Regions from separate parts of the Homo sapiens genome. Here all the other regions are linked to region 2. The links are contacts of gene promoters, found by promoter capture Hi-C in blood cells and fetal thymus (Javierre and others, 2016). All regions are on one chromosome and are shown on one strand. Each heading gives the region's core, a stretch centred on a gene start or on the middle of the fragment in contact. The rest is flanking DNA. Distances are from core to core; before and after follow the strand shown. Region 1 holds the start of STPG1 (sperm tail PG-rich repeat containing 1). Region 2 holds the start of SRSF10 (serine and arginine rich splicing factor 10). Region 3 overlaps STPG1 (sperm tail PG-rich repeat containing 1).

What was found. Contacts are between HindIII fragments. The CHiCAGO score rates a contact against its expected background, and 5 or more counts as called.
Region 1: a contact is called between a fragment that was not itself captured here and the fragment with the promoter of SRSF10 in region 2, in 1 of 17 cell types (M2 macrophages). The highest score is 7.1, in M2 macrophages.
Region 3: a fragment that was not itself captured here is called in contact with the fragment with the promoter of SRSF10 in region 2 in 1 of 17 cell types (M2 macrophages); the score reaches 5.6 in M2 macrophages.

The regions. Positions count from the first base shown.
Region 1 is chr1:24,409,328-24,413,898 of GRCh38, reverse strand. STPG1 (sperm tail PG-rich repeat containing 1) reads left to right here and starts at 117. Exons shown (of 9, transcript NM_001199013.2): 1 at 117-225. It also overlaps a transcript of NIPAL3 not described here. RefSeq lists an enhancer at 502-621. The HindIII fragment of the contact is 5,021 bases long and covers 1-4,391 here.
Region 2 is chr1:23,978,781-23,982,999 of GRCh38, reverse strand. SRSF10 (serine and arginine rich splicing factor 10) reads left to right here and starts at 2,673. Exons shown (of 6, transcript NM_054016.4): 1 at 2,673-2,809; 2 at 4,183-4,219. The coding sequence starts at 2,745. RefSeq lists enhancers at 2,349-2,398, 1,465-2,455, 2,409-2,738, 3,169-3,218, 2,456-3,446. The HindIII fragment of the contact is 15,744 bases long and covers 962-4,219 here.
Region 3 is chr1:24,391,717-24,395,823 of GRCh38, reverse strand. All of the region lies in intron 2 of STPG1 (sperm tail PG-rich repeat containing 1), which reads left to right. Among named protein-coding and RNA genes, the nearest start is that of STPG1, 20 kb to the left of the region's middle. RefSeq lists an enhancer at 3,517-3,766. The HindIII fragment of the contact is 2,681 bases long and covers 1,517-4,107 here.

The DNA of each region.
Region 1 (4,571 bases), core at 632-3,131, 430 kb before region 2:
CCTGATGTAATTAACCTAAGCCCTAAAATTCGGCCGGCTTCTCTGCGGACTTTGAAACGCCTCTAATGATTGGTCAACAACTTTTCACGTTAAAGAAACAGAGGATGCCATTGGCTGGAGTTACCTCGCGGACGGCGGAAGGTGGACTCGCGAATGTTAGGCCTGTGGGTGCCATAGCGACCGGGAGGTTGGGCTGGCCAGATTCAGCTGCCGGGACCGGACCAGGTAGGAAGCAGTTCCGGCGGGGGGACCGGTCCCTGAGGTCGTGGGGAAGAGGACACGGCGCACCATGTCCTCCGCATGGGACGCCCGCGGAGACCCCCCGGCCTCCGGGTGCTTGCGGAATTCCAGGGCTGAGCTAGGTGGAGCCCCGAGGGCGGGAAGAAGCCACCATGGGAGTTGCCCCTGCGTCGGGGCGTGTCCTCGGTGTTTCCACCCGAAAAGTGGTGACAACTGGGGCTTGCCTGCTCCACCGAGCTCCTGCCAGGGGCGTGGGCGTCCGACCCTTCTGGCTCAGGCTCCGCGAGTGCGCAAAAGTTGGGAGGCTTCAGTGCCTGGCAGTGGGTGGACGCCAAAGACCTGATCTCTACTCATAGGTTCACCCCAGCTCAGGGGGTGTCCCCCAGCAAACGACTTCCCTGCTCTGGGCCTCGATTTACCCATCTGTAAAATAAAAGGGTGAGATTGGAACCTGGTGGTCACTAGCCCGCCGCTAAATTTCCTTCCAGCTCCCTGATACACTTTCTCAGCCTATGAAGACTATCGAATGGGTTATTTACCTGAGAGTGCTTTGAAAAAATGTAAGCTGCTTCCAAGATGCTTATAACTGAGTAGATAAAAATCGCCTACAGACGAAACTACTCAGGACATCCAAAAAAATTCTATCTAAAGTAACAGTATACATAGTTTAGTACATGTTTATATACCCTGTACAGTAACATGTATAATGTAAACTGTAATACTTAGCATATATAACGTTTTTTAAAAACACAAGAGATGATAAAATGAAACTGTGCCTATAGTTGTGATCATGTGAGCTGTCCTTGTAGAATCTAACTCCCGCTGGAAATATATTCTGAGCACAGCTGTACACACAATTGCTAAAAGGTGTCTACCTCTAGTATTCATTCATTCATTCATTCCACCAATATTTATGAAGAAAATACTAATTTTAAAAATTCTCAATACTATTATTATTATTTTTGTAGAGACAGGGCCTTGCTATGTTGCCCAGGGTAGTCTTGAACTTCTGTCTCAAGCCATCCTTCCCCCTCAGCCTCTCAAAGTGCTGGGATTACGGGTGTGGGCCACCATGCCTGGCCAATTGAGCAAATACTGTATGTGAGGAAATAGACTGAAGATTCAGAGTTGAACTTTCTACTGGGGAAGATCATAAACAAATAAAGTAATAAACATACAATATAATGTTGGGTAGTGAAAAGTGCTTTGAAAAAGATAAAGCAGAGTAAGGGGCTAGAGAGAGATGGGTTGGTGCTTCTTAAGAGAGGGTGGTCAGGGAAGTCATCCCTAAGAAGGTTTGAGCAGAGAGTCTCGTGAATTTTGTGACAGGACTGCAGGACGATGCCTGGGTCCGGTGAGGAAAGGAGCTCCCCATGCAGCAAGGAGATATGTGGCAAAAGCCAGGGAGGTCCCATGTGGAGAAGAAGATTAGTCTTTAGGTGGTGGGGCACGACAACTGCCTTCAAATTCTTGCAGAATAGTCATATAGAACAGTGGCTTTCAAACCTTTTGACTGTGACTCATGGTAAATGCATTTTATATTGTGACCCAGCATGCACACACGCATATGACAAACTAAAACTTCACAAAAGACTACAGACTATGACTTGCATTTTGAAAATCACCAATGTGGAAGAGAAATGAGACTTACTTTGAGTTGGTTCCAAGGGTGGGAATTAGGACGGATAGAAAAAGAAAAAAAGAGAGAGAGAATCAGCTTTGATACAGGAAGGAACTTTCTAGCAATTAGAACTGTCCAACAGTGAACTTCCCCCAGGAGTTTTTAAACTGTGTTCTGATGAAACCTAGCATTCTGTGAATATTCAAGAGAGTCAAATATTTGCCCCCACCCAGCCATCCCTTATTTGCTTTATATTTTGAAAACTATATGCAATATTGTAACTTCAGAAACCCAACCAGGTAAGGCACGGTGGCTCACTGTAATCCCAGTGCTTTGGGAAGCTGAGGTGAGAAGATCACTTGAGGCTAGGATTTCGAGACCATCCTGGGCAGCATAGGTGAGACATTGTCTTTACAAAAAATTTTAAAACTAGCCAGGTGTGGTGGCAGGTGTCTGTAGTCCTAGCTACTCTGGAGGCTGAGGTGGGAGGATCACTTGAGCCTAGGAGTTTGAGGTTGCAGTAAGCTATGATTGCACCACTGCACTCTAGCAAGTGGACGACACAGCAAGATCCTATTTCTAAAAATAATAATAACAAACCAATCATACCCACTCGGGTGCTAAATGTCAAAATTTAGCAAGTTAATATTTAGTGTGTGCTGCCTGAGAGGTTATTATAGAGGTTAAGGAGTGAGTAGAAGTCAGACTTCCTGAGTTCAAAGCCTGATTCCACTTTTCTTCTAATGTGACTTTGGGCAAGTCACTTAACCCCCCACCAAACTTAAGTTTTCTCATCTGTAAAAAGTGGGGATTATACCTCACTGGATTATTATAAAAATTGCATAAGGTATTCCATAGAAGGCATTTAGGACTGTGCAGGCTCAATAAATGATAGCTATTATTTTAAGTTGTTAATACGATATCCCTGTGCGTATATTAAAACCCTACATTAATACAAGCCTACTGCAGGATAGGCAGTGTTAACCACTTCACATGGATCAGCCTAAGAGGAAGGTACTGTTATCACTCCCAGTTTATGGAGGAGGAAATAGGCTCAGAAGTTTAAGTGACTCATCGAGAATCAGAGCTATTAAGTGGCAGGCCATAACCTTGAACCCAGGACTGGATACTCTGGACTGCTGCGCTGGCCCCCACGTAGGAATCGCTTAAACATATGTTGTTGATTCGGAAAGTGGTATATCTTCACTGCTCTTTCTTAGATTCTAGGTCCATGCCATCCTGTCATGGACAGTTATACAGGTGGACCAGTGAGGCACACCTGGGCAGTGCTCTGTTCACATCTGTCCTGCACCTGCTCTCATCCTGCCTTCACAGGTATGCAGTGAGAAGACTGGAAAGCATTATTAACAGTGTGGTCTTTTGGTGGTAGGATTGGGGATTGTTTTTTATTTGTTTGTTTGTTTGTTTTGAGACGGAGTCTCGCTCTGTTGCCCAGGCTGGAGTGCGGTGGCGCGATCTTGGCTCACTGCAATCTTCACCTCCTGGGTTCAAGCGATTCTCCTGCATCAGTCTCCTGAGTAGCTGGGACTACAGGTGCACGCCACCATGTCCAGCTAATTTTTGTATTTTTAGTAGACATGGGGTTTCACTGTGTTAGCCAGGATGGTCTGGATCTCCTGACCTCATGATCCGCCCACCTCGGCCTCGCAAAGTGCTGGGATTACAGGTGTGAGCCACAGCGCTCGGCCATGGATTGCAGATTGTTTAAAGTTTTTTTGTAATTTATCATATTTTCTTAAATGTTGACAGTGTACATACATTATTATTATAGTAGTCCTCCCTTATTCAAGGGGGATATGTTCCAAGACCACCAGTAGATGCCAGTGAAACAGTGGATAATACCCAAACTGATTACTGTCAATCAGACTGTTTCTGTTCATATCTTCCACTCACAAATTTAATGCTTTTTCCATCTTAACTAAGCACTTATCATGCTCTGTGGCAACAGCTTTTTATAGTTTGAGGTGAAGCACCAAAACTAGCACCAATTTTTTTCCCCTTTGAAATTTGATGGATAGAAGTTTTATTCTTACTGTAGATCTTAGCAACCTCAGAATACAGTTTTTTTCTTGCCTTATTAAGTCAAGAACTTTCACCTTTTCACATAAAGGAGGCACTTTACAGCTTGTCTTTGGCATGTCCAAAGTGCTGGCATCACTACTCTTGTGCTTTGGGGCCATTATTAAGTAAAGTAAGAGTTACTTGAACACAAGCACTGAGACAACGTGATGGTGGATCTGACAATCGAGATGGCTACTAAGTGACTAATGGTGGGGTAGCAAATACAGCTTGAATGTGCTGGACAAGGATGATTCACATCCCAGGTAGGGTGGAGTCAGACGATAGGAGATTTCATCACATGCCTCAGAATGGTGCATAATTTAAAGCTGATGAATTATTTATTTCTGGAATTTTCCATTTAATATTTTCAAACCACAATTGACCATGGGTAACTGAAACTGGAAAATAAAGCTACAGACAAGGGTGGACTACTGTAAAACAGGAAGCTTAATATTTTTCTAATCACTCATAATTCCAGAACACTAATACATTTTTTAATAACAGCTTTATTAAAGCTAGGGCAGTAGATGGTTCTTACTAAAATGGTATAACACTGAGGGGTGGTAAATGAATAGTGGCTGCTTTGGTTATTTTTTGAGACAGGGTCTCACTTTGTCACCCAGGCTGA
Region 2 (4,219 bases), core at 1,424-3,923:
AAAAAAAAAAAAAAAAAGGGACACTTTGAGTGTGAGGCGGAAAGCAATTCTGGTGAGTAAATATATGTCCCTCAGTTGCCTGTATTATTTCTCAAGGCATTATGAATAATAATAATTGCTGGCATTCAGGGCCAGCTTCTTGAGCGTGCTACTTGTGCACTGGAATGGGCCCCATGCTCAGAAGGACCCTGCACTTGGCTTAGTACTCTGCGATTGTCGTTTTGAATTTCTTAATAAATATTGAATGAAGGGCCTTGCATTTTCATGTTGTACTGGGCCCCTGTGATCCTGTTAACATTTTAGGGCACTTTCTATGCATCAGACTCCATTCTAAATCTTCACCCTATTAAACATGAGTGGCTGGAGTAGCACCAGACAGTGTAAATTTCCTCCATTACTTAAGGTAATTTGCAGGACTCTGTTTTCTTGCCACTGAAAGTATTTAACTGAGAGGGGCAGGGGAGACACTTGCTCAGCAAGGCCTTCCTAGGCAAACCTGTTTTAAAAATTAAAAACAAGGCCGGGGGCACAGTGGCTCACACCTGTAATTTCAGCACTTTGGAAGGCCAAGGCAGGCGGATCAATTAGGTCAGGAGTTTGAGACCAGCCTGGCCAACATGGTGAAAACCCATCTCTACTGAAAACAGAAAAATTAGCCAGGCATGGTGGCAGGAGCCTGTAGTCCCAGCTACTCGGGAGGCTGACGTAGGTGAATCGCTTGAACCCAGGAGGCGGAGGCTGCAGTAAGCCAAGATCCAGCCACTGCATTCACGCCTGGTCAACAGAGCAAGACTACATCTCAAAAAATAAAATAAAATAAAAATAAGTAAAAATCAAAAACAAGAAAAAACCTATCACATTACTGTTTCTTTCATATAACAAACCTGCATTTACTTTATTTTCTCATTGCCATCGCCCTAGAAATATAAGCTGTATGTTTTTCATTACTGAATTTCAAGCTTCTAGCACAATGTCTGACACATAACAGGGAATCAAACTTTTTTTTGTTTTGTTTTGTTTTTCACATCACCCTCCCAAAATGCTGGGATTTTGGGGCCACCTTGCCTGGCCCAACATTTTAATAAATTAAGCATGCAAATCTTGGGAAACAAAAATTTAGAATAGCTCTGCTACAGAGTGCTACAAACTATCATCACCTGTATCGAATCACTTAATTGTCTTAGATGCTGATTGACACAAAAATAATGCCTTTATGACTTTTTATTAAATAAAAGTTCATTTAATTTAACAGTACTTGAGTCCCTGCTACCTGCTTGGCACTGTGCCACACGCTGGAGGCATTCCAACTGAAGTCTCTCATCTCCAGAAGTTGACTCTTATCGAGCAGGAAATGGCTCTCAAAAGGGCCTCCAAAATCAAAACCATACTAAAGATTATTTGCTATTTTCATGCTCATTCTCTTACAAACGTGGAGTTTTCCAGAGGGTACATGATGTGTGATAAAGGGTAGTGGAGTGTGTCAAAGTTTTCTCTATTTTTTTTTTTTTTCTTTTTTGAGACGGAGTCTCACCCTGTCGCCCAGGCTGGAATGCAGTGGTGCAATCTCGGCTCACTGCAACCTCTGCCTCCCGAGTTCAAGCGATTCTTCTGCCCCAGCCTCCCAAGTAGCTGGGATTACAGGCGCGCGCCACTACGCCTGGCTAATTTTTGTATTTTTAGTAGAGATGGGGTTTCACTGTGTTGGTCAGGCTGGTCTCAAACTCTTGACCTCGTGATCTGCCCGCCTCGGCCTCCCAAAGTACAGGGAGGGATTACAGGCGTGAGCCACCGAGCCCAGCCGAAGTTTCCTCTATTTTAAGTTCTCATTAACTATTTATTAATAGGTATAACCCACACTTTTTTTAAAAAAAGCTCTTTGGAATCTTCCGTAATACACAAGAATATAAAGGCGTTCTGAGACCAAAAAGTTTGAGAACTGCTGCAATACAGGTCCGATGCATACCCAGGAAGCCGTCAGCAACAAAGAATACACTACAAATGACCACAGTCATGAACCTACAGTGTGAGGTTTGGTCCCACCCAGGTTGGGAGCCAAATGCGTGACTAAGTGGAGATGGCTAGGGTGTGGGTGAGGGGCAAAGGCAGGCTGAAAACACTGGAGAGACAGGCCCAGCTCTGCGCAAGGGCACACACCTCCTTCCTTTACACACTCAATACAAGCTGTAAATCCTTCTTTCGCAGGTCAGGGCATAACCTGGACCAAACGGGAAATTTAAGGCAAAATAAAAGCAGGACATTAACTTGGACCAACCGGGAAATTTAAGGCAGCCTCTCTGAACTAAATAGTTTAAAAATCTGTCCATTTAGTAGTAACCGCAAAGTTTGGCCTAGAGACTAAAACATCTGCTTCCTGATTTGGGGGTGGAGATGAAGTGGAGTGTAAGGTAGAAAACGGCGGGAAATGAAGACCTAAAGAAAGAAAGAACAGGCTTGGGGGAGGGTAAGAGGCACCGCAAGAAGCCAACGAATGACACCGACGCTGAGGCGCGTGCGCCAGCCCTCCGCATGCGCAGGCGGACGCCTGGTGTTCTCGCGGGAAAGAACCGTTGCGCCCGACTTTGCGCGGAGGTAGGAGGGGGAAGTGGAGGCGGGAGTGAAGTCTCGCGAGAAGAGTCGGTTGCCGTAGCAGAGCCCTCTAGCTGTGTGTGTCTGAGGCTCGGCCGCCTGAGCCGCGGACGGTTTGCTGAGCCCGTTAGTGCGCCCGGCCGAGACACGCCGCCGCCATGTCCCGCTACCTGCGTCCCCCCAACACGTCTCTGTTCGTCAGGAACGTGGCCGACGACACCAGGTAGGTACAAGGCAGGTACTCCGGGCCTAGGCGGGGAGGCCGCAGGCGCCTGGAGAGGACCCTGGTGGTGGCGGCACTGGGCCGGGGGAGGGGACGGAGTGAAGATGGCGGGTCCCGCGCCCGCTTTGGCGCCGAACTAGGCCGCGCAGCGGGCCTCAGCCGCCGCGTGGGAGCGAGGGCGGCGCCTCTGCCTTCGCCGGGCCGCGTGGCGGGGTTTTTCGGTCCCCCTCCCCCTCCGCAGTTTGCAGCCCCTTTCTCCCTGCTTCCTGCCGGCGCGAGCAGCCCCCCGCCGCGGCCTTTCCGCGACCCGACGGCCGCCCCCCATTGATTTGAAGTTCACATTCTTCGAGGTTCACGCCCCCTTGGCCCAGAGATTTTTTTTTTTCCCCAGCCAAAAAATAGTGAGATGAAATAACGGGATCGAGGGAGAGGAATGTTGCTACCATTTATCTTTGTTGTTGTTGCCGTTGTTAATATTTGGGGGTTTTAATCAGTTGGAGGTGTTTGGAGAAAGGGAGCGTTGAGATTTGGGGAGTTAGATTTTTCCAGTTAAATGTTGCGAGTAGTTTTTCTTATTTCCTGGAAATTCTGGTCACCCTTTGAAAAGGGAGGTTTGGGAAGCGTCAGTCATTAGGACGTTGACAGCTAAGTTAGATTAATTCAGACGTACCTTAAATAGGCTTTGTTCTCACCATTCCCTTGTTTCGAGTTGCCTTCAGATTATTTTGGAAGAGTTCTTACTACAAGATGAGGCTTTTTATTTCACAAATAATGAATCTACACACAGAAAATAAGTGGTTTGGGTTTTTGGTGTTTCGTGGGGGTTTTTTGCTAGCTTTGTGATTTGCTTTTGTCTTAAATTTAAGAAGGAAAGAAAGCAATAATTCTTTCCATAAATAATTCTTTCCATAATTTCTAATAGTTACGTTAGCATCTAGAGAAATTTTCTCTTTACGTCATCTTGACACTTAACTATTTAAGAAGTTCGATATTTGTGACTTTTTCAGACCATATTTATCTACTGTTAAGTGTGTAAATCTGTCGCTAAAATTGGGGAGTAAAAATAAGTGCTTGGTATTTTTCAGAGTGCTAGAGTCGATTTGATGCTGTAAAAGTAAAAAAAAAAAAAAAAACAAGGCTTATATACAACCTAATGCTGCTGTACCTTTTATGAAAAATGACGGCTGTAGATAAAAATAAGTTGTGGTCATTCCCTTGTACCATACATATGTCTGCTGTTGTCCTGTTAATGTAAACTGCATTTTTATCTTCCAAATTCTTGGATCCTAGCTTTCCTTCATCAAAAAGATATATTGCCTATACATCTTAAGGACTTGGACATAAAAATTTGAGGTCTTTTTATGATGTTTTAGGTCTGAAGACTTGCGGCGTGAATTTGGTCGTTATGGT
Region 3 (4,107 bases), core at 1,608-4,107, 410 kb before region 2:
AGGCCTCCCAAAGTGCTGGATTACAGGCTACCACACCCGGCCAGTAATCATTACTTTTTAAATGTTTAAAATGTTATATTTAAATTATTCAAGGCTGGGTTTGGTGGCTCATGCCTGTAATCCCAGCACTTTGAGAAGCCGGGGCGGGCAGATCATGAGGTCAGGAGATCGAGACCATCCTGGCTAACACGGTGAAACCCCGTCTCTACTAAAAATACAAAAAATTAGCCGGGCGCGGTGGCGGGCGCCTGTAGTCCCAGCTACTCGGGAGGCTGAGGCAGGAGAATGGCGTGAACCCGGGAGGCAGAGCTTGCAGTGAGCCGAGATAGCGCCATTGCACTCCAGCCTGGGCGCAAGAACGAGACTCCGTCTAAAAAAAAAAAAAAAAAAAAAAATTGTTCAATTTATACTCATAATTTTATATTTTCTATTTACCCACATATTTACTATTTCCAGAGCTTCATTCCTTTATGTGATTCAGATTTCCTACTGGTATCATTTTCTTTGGCCTGAAGGGCTTCCCTTAACATTTCTTGTAGCTCCCATTTGCTGATGATTCTTTCAATATTTATATAGTTTTAAAAGTTTTTATTCTGCTTTTGCTTTTGAAGATATTTTTACTGAGTACAGGATTCTAGGGTGACAGGTTTTTTTTTTCCTTTTATTGCCTTAAAGGTGTTGTTTTCAGTATCAATCTGCTGTCATTCTCGTATTTGTTTCTTCATATGTGACATGTCTTTTTTCTCTGCCCAATTTTAACATTTTCTTCTTATCACTTTTTAAGCAATTTGATTATGGTTGGCCTACGGTGTCATTTTCTTCATGTTTCTTGTATTTGATGTTAAGTGACTTTCTTGAATCTGTGAGTCAATAGTTTTTTTAATCAAATTTGGAAAAATTTCAACCATTTTTTCTTGAACTATTTTTTTCTATTTCTTCTCTCCTCATATTTCTTTTTTTGAGAGCCTGATTACATATATATTAGGCTCCTCAAAGTTTCCACACAGCTCACTAATCCTTTTTCTTGTCCTTTTTCTGTTTTATTTTGTATAGTTTTATTTCTAGGTCTTCAAGTTTACTAATCTTTTTTTCCTCTAATGTCTAATTTGCTATTCATCTCATCTAGTGTATTTTTAATCTCAGACATTTAGTTTTCACATCTGGTAGTTCGATTTGGATCTTGTCATTATATCTTCCATATCTACTTAATATGTTCAGTCTTTTCTCTGGCTTCTTGAACATATGAAATACAGTTAGTGCAGCAGTTATAATGTTCTTCTCCACTAATTCTATCATCTGTATCATTTCTGAGTTGGTTTTGATCATTTATTTTCTCCCCACTTTGAAGTATATTTTTCCTTCTTCCTCCTATTAATTTTTTATCAATGCCAGGTATTTTGAATTTTACCTCTTAGGTGCTATTTTTGTAGTCCCATAAATATTCTTGTGCTTTGTTCTGAGATGCAGTTAAATTATTTGGAGACAGTTTGATCTTTTCAGGTCCTGCTTTAAAGCTTTGTTAGCTGGAACCAGAGCAGTATTTAGTCTAGGGGTAATTTTGCCCCATTTCTGAGGCGAAACCCTCCTGCATACTCTATGTTCCATGAATTATGAGGTTTTCCCGCTGTGACTCATGAAAACAGGAGCTATTCCCGGCCCTGTGGAAGCCTCAGGGATTGCTCACTTGAATTCTGCCAGGCGGTTCCTTCTCCAGCCCTGGGTAGTTTTCTCATGCCATGTGTTGGTCAATACCCAGGAACTTACTCAGGGGACCCCGTTGCAGAGCTCCATAGCTCTCCATCTGGGTAGCTCTCTCTTCTCTGGTACTCTGCTCTGTGAACTTAGCTGTCTTGGTCTTTCTGGACTCCCAGATCTATTTCCTCAACTCAGGAAGACCACGGGGCTCCATCTGGATCCCTTCTTCCTGTGCTGTGGTCTTGAGATTTTCTCCTGGCAGAAAGCTGGGGACCATCTTATTGCCAACCTCATTTACTTTGCTTCTCTCAGGGATCCCTGTCCTTTGTTGCCTGATGTCCAGTATCTTGATTGCTTTATATATCTTGCCCATTTTTAACTTTTTTTTTCCAGCTGGGAGGGCAAATCTAGTCCTGTTTTGGTAAGAAATAGGAGTTCAGTCATCCAGAGTGTTTTTCAAAAATTCTACTTTTTAAATTGTTTCATCAAGAGGGCTGCTCTGACACATGCATTTCTGTTATAGCCAGAAGCCTTGGATCTCCTTTCCAGTCAGGCAGAAACCTCTCCTTTCCCCAGGAGAATGTCCTTCCTTTAACCTTTTTTAAATAACTCTCTTTTTACTGCCTCCTCTGCACACTCTCTTAGCTGTTCTATAGGCTTAGGCTTTTAGAAACAAAAGCCAGGAAGTCTTGCAGCTGCTTCTGCCTTTTGATTTGCTGTATAGCTCTCTTAAAGCAAACAAACCAAAAACATAGCCATTCATCTACTTAAATGGGGAGGGGAGGAGAAGAATACATTTACTGTATATTGGTATCCCCAAATATTTTCTACTTAAACACGTATTCAGCTCCTTTTACTTGCTTCATCCTCCACCCAGGCAGATTAGGCTTCAGTGTCCCTCTCCCCATCGTGTTTATTGAGCACTTACTAGAGGCCAGCTCAGGAAGAGGAAGCACAGCTCAGAGCTCAAGAGCCTGGACTCATTAGGCAAATCATGTTCACACCCTACCTGTTCCGCTTAAGTGCTGGGTGATTCGGATGAGTAACTTAATCCCTCTAAGCCTCAGTTTCCTCAACTGTGAAGCTGGTTCATGATTGTACCCCTTGAGGGGTCCCTGTTGTCTTCAGGCTTCCTGCTCTGAAAAGGAGTATTGTTTTTTAAAAAAATTCAGAGATGAAGAAATGAGCCTTACTGATAGTTTCCATACAAACCACCCTCTGTCATGGCTAACACATACTTTCTTCTTTCCTTCTCTTGACTGTTTTTTTTCCCCCATTTCTGCGCGTATTTCCTCTCTGAAGGTTAGGATTCTGATGTTAAAATAATTTGGCTTACTGTTGTGAACAGCCTACAGAGTCAGGATGCACCCCCCCACCCAAAATTTGGTTTGGATGTCAAGACTTACGGTGCCACACACACGCTCATGAAGAGTGTAGGAAAAGGCTTATCACCCACATAGTGAGGCCTTCTGAGGACAGCAGCACAGCCTTCCTAACCTGATCCAATAATGGCTTGAGAGAGCAGGGAAAGGAGCCTGGCTTGGGGGTTTTCTTATGGTTGGAAAGCGAGGCTGGACTGAGGGCAGGGGTCTGCGTGGTTTGAACTTCCAGCTGGTGCCACAGGAGGGAGCTCTGGGCTTTCTCATCCGCTTGCCCAGTGGTAGGGCAGAAGGGAATGAGGGAGTGGTGAAGCTGAAGAGCTATCAGCCATCAAACATCAAAAAACTGGAGTCAGAGTCCATTACACTTACAGGTTAGAGTCTATAATCAACCTGCTATGCAGACAGATGCTGCCAAGTTCTAGCAGTTGTGGAAGTCTCAGCAGGAGGGGAGTTTATACATCAGACATGCATGTATACATCGCAGCCTAGACAAAGGAACTTTTAACTTCAGTTTCTATAGATGATCCCTTTCTGCTTTTTAACCCCATGTCTGCTCAAAACAGAAACGAAAACTTACACCTGTCTTGCACAGTGCCCTGAAAAGTGAGAGCCAGCCCCAGGCTGGGATTTCCCTAACCTCTTTGGATTTTAACGGCCTAATGCTGGTGTCTGAATCTAGGCCAAGGAGCAGTGAGGACGCTTCCTCTGTCCTGACCGCGCCTCGTCCAGGCTGCTCCCAGAATAGTTTTGCTGTCTCCTTCCTGCCTGGCAAGAATGTCTTTACTATCATCTCCTTCCTTTTCTCCGGGACAGCCTGTTTAAGGTACTTTATGTGACCACATCTCACTAATTTAAGAGCTGGAGGGGGGAAGTCCGATAAATTGCCGAGAGGGAAAGAAAGTGGGGAATTTTTTTTTTAATCCGGTTTCGTGTCTGTTTCCTGTCAAAAGGCAAGTTTCTCTTCTCTACCATTTAAAATAAAACTTTAATATACACCTTTGTGTTTTCCACATTTGTCAATCATTGTTTT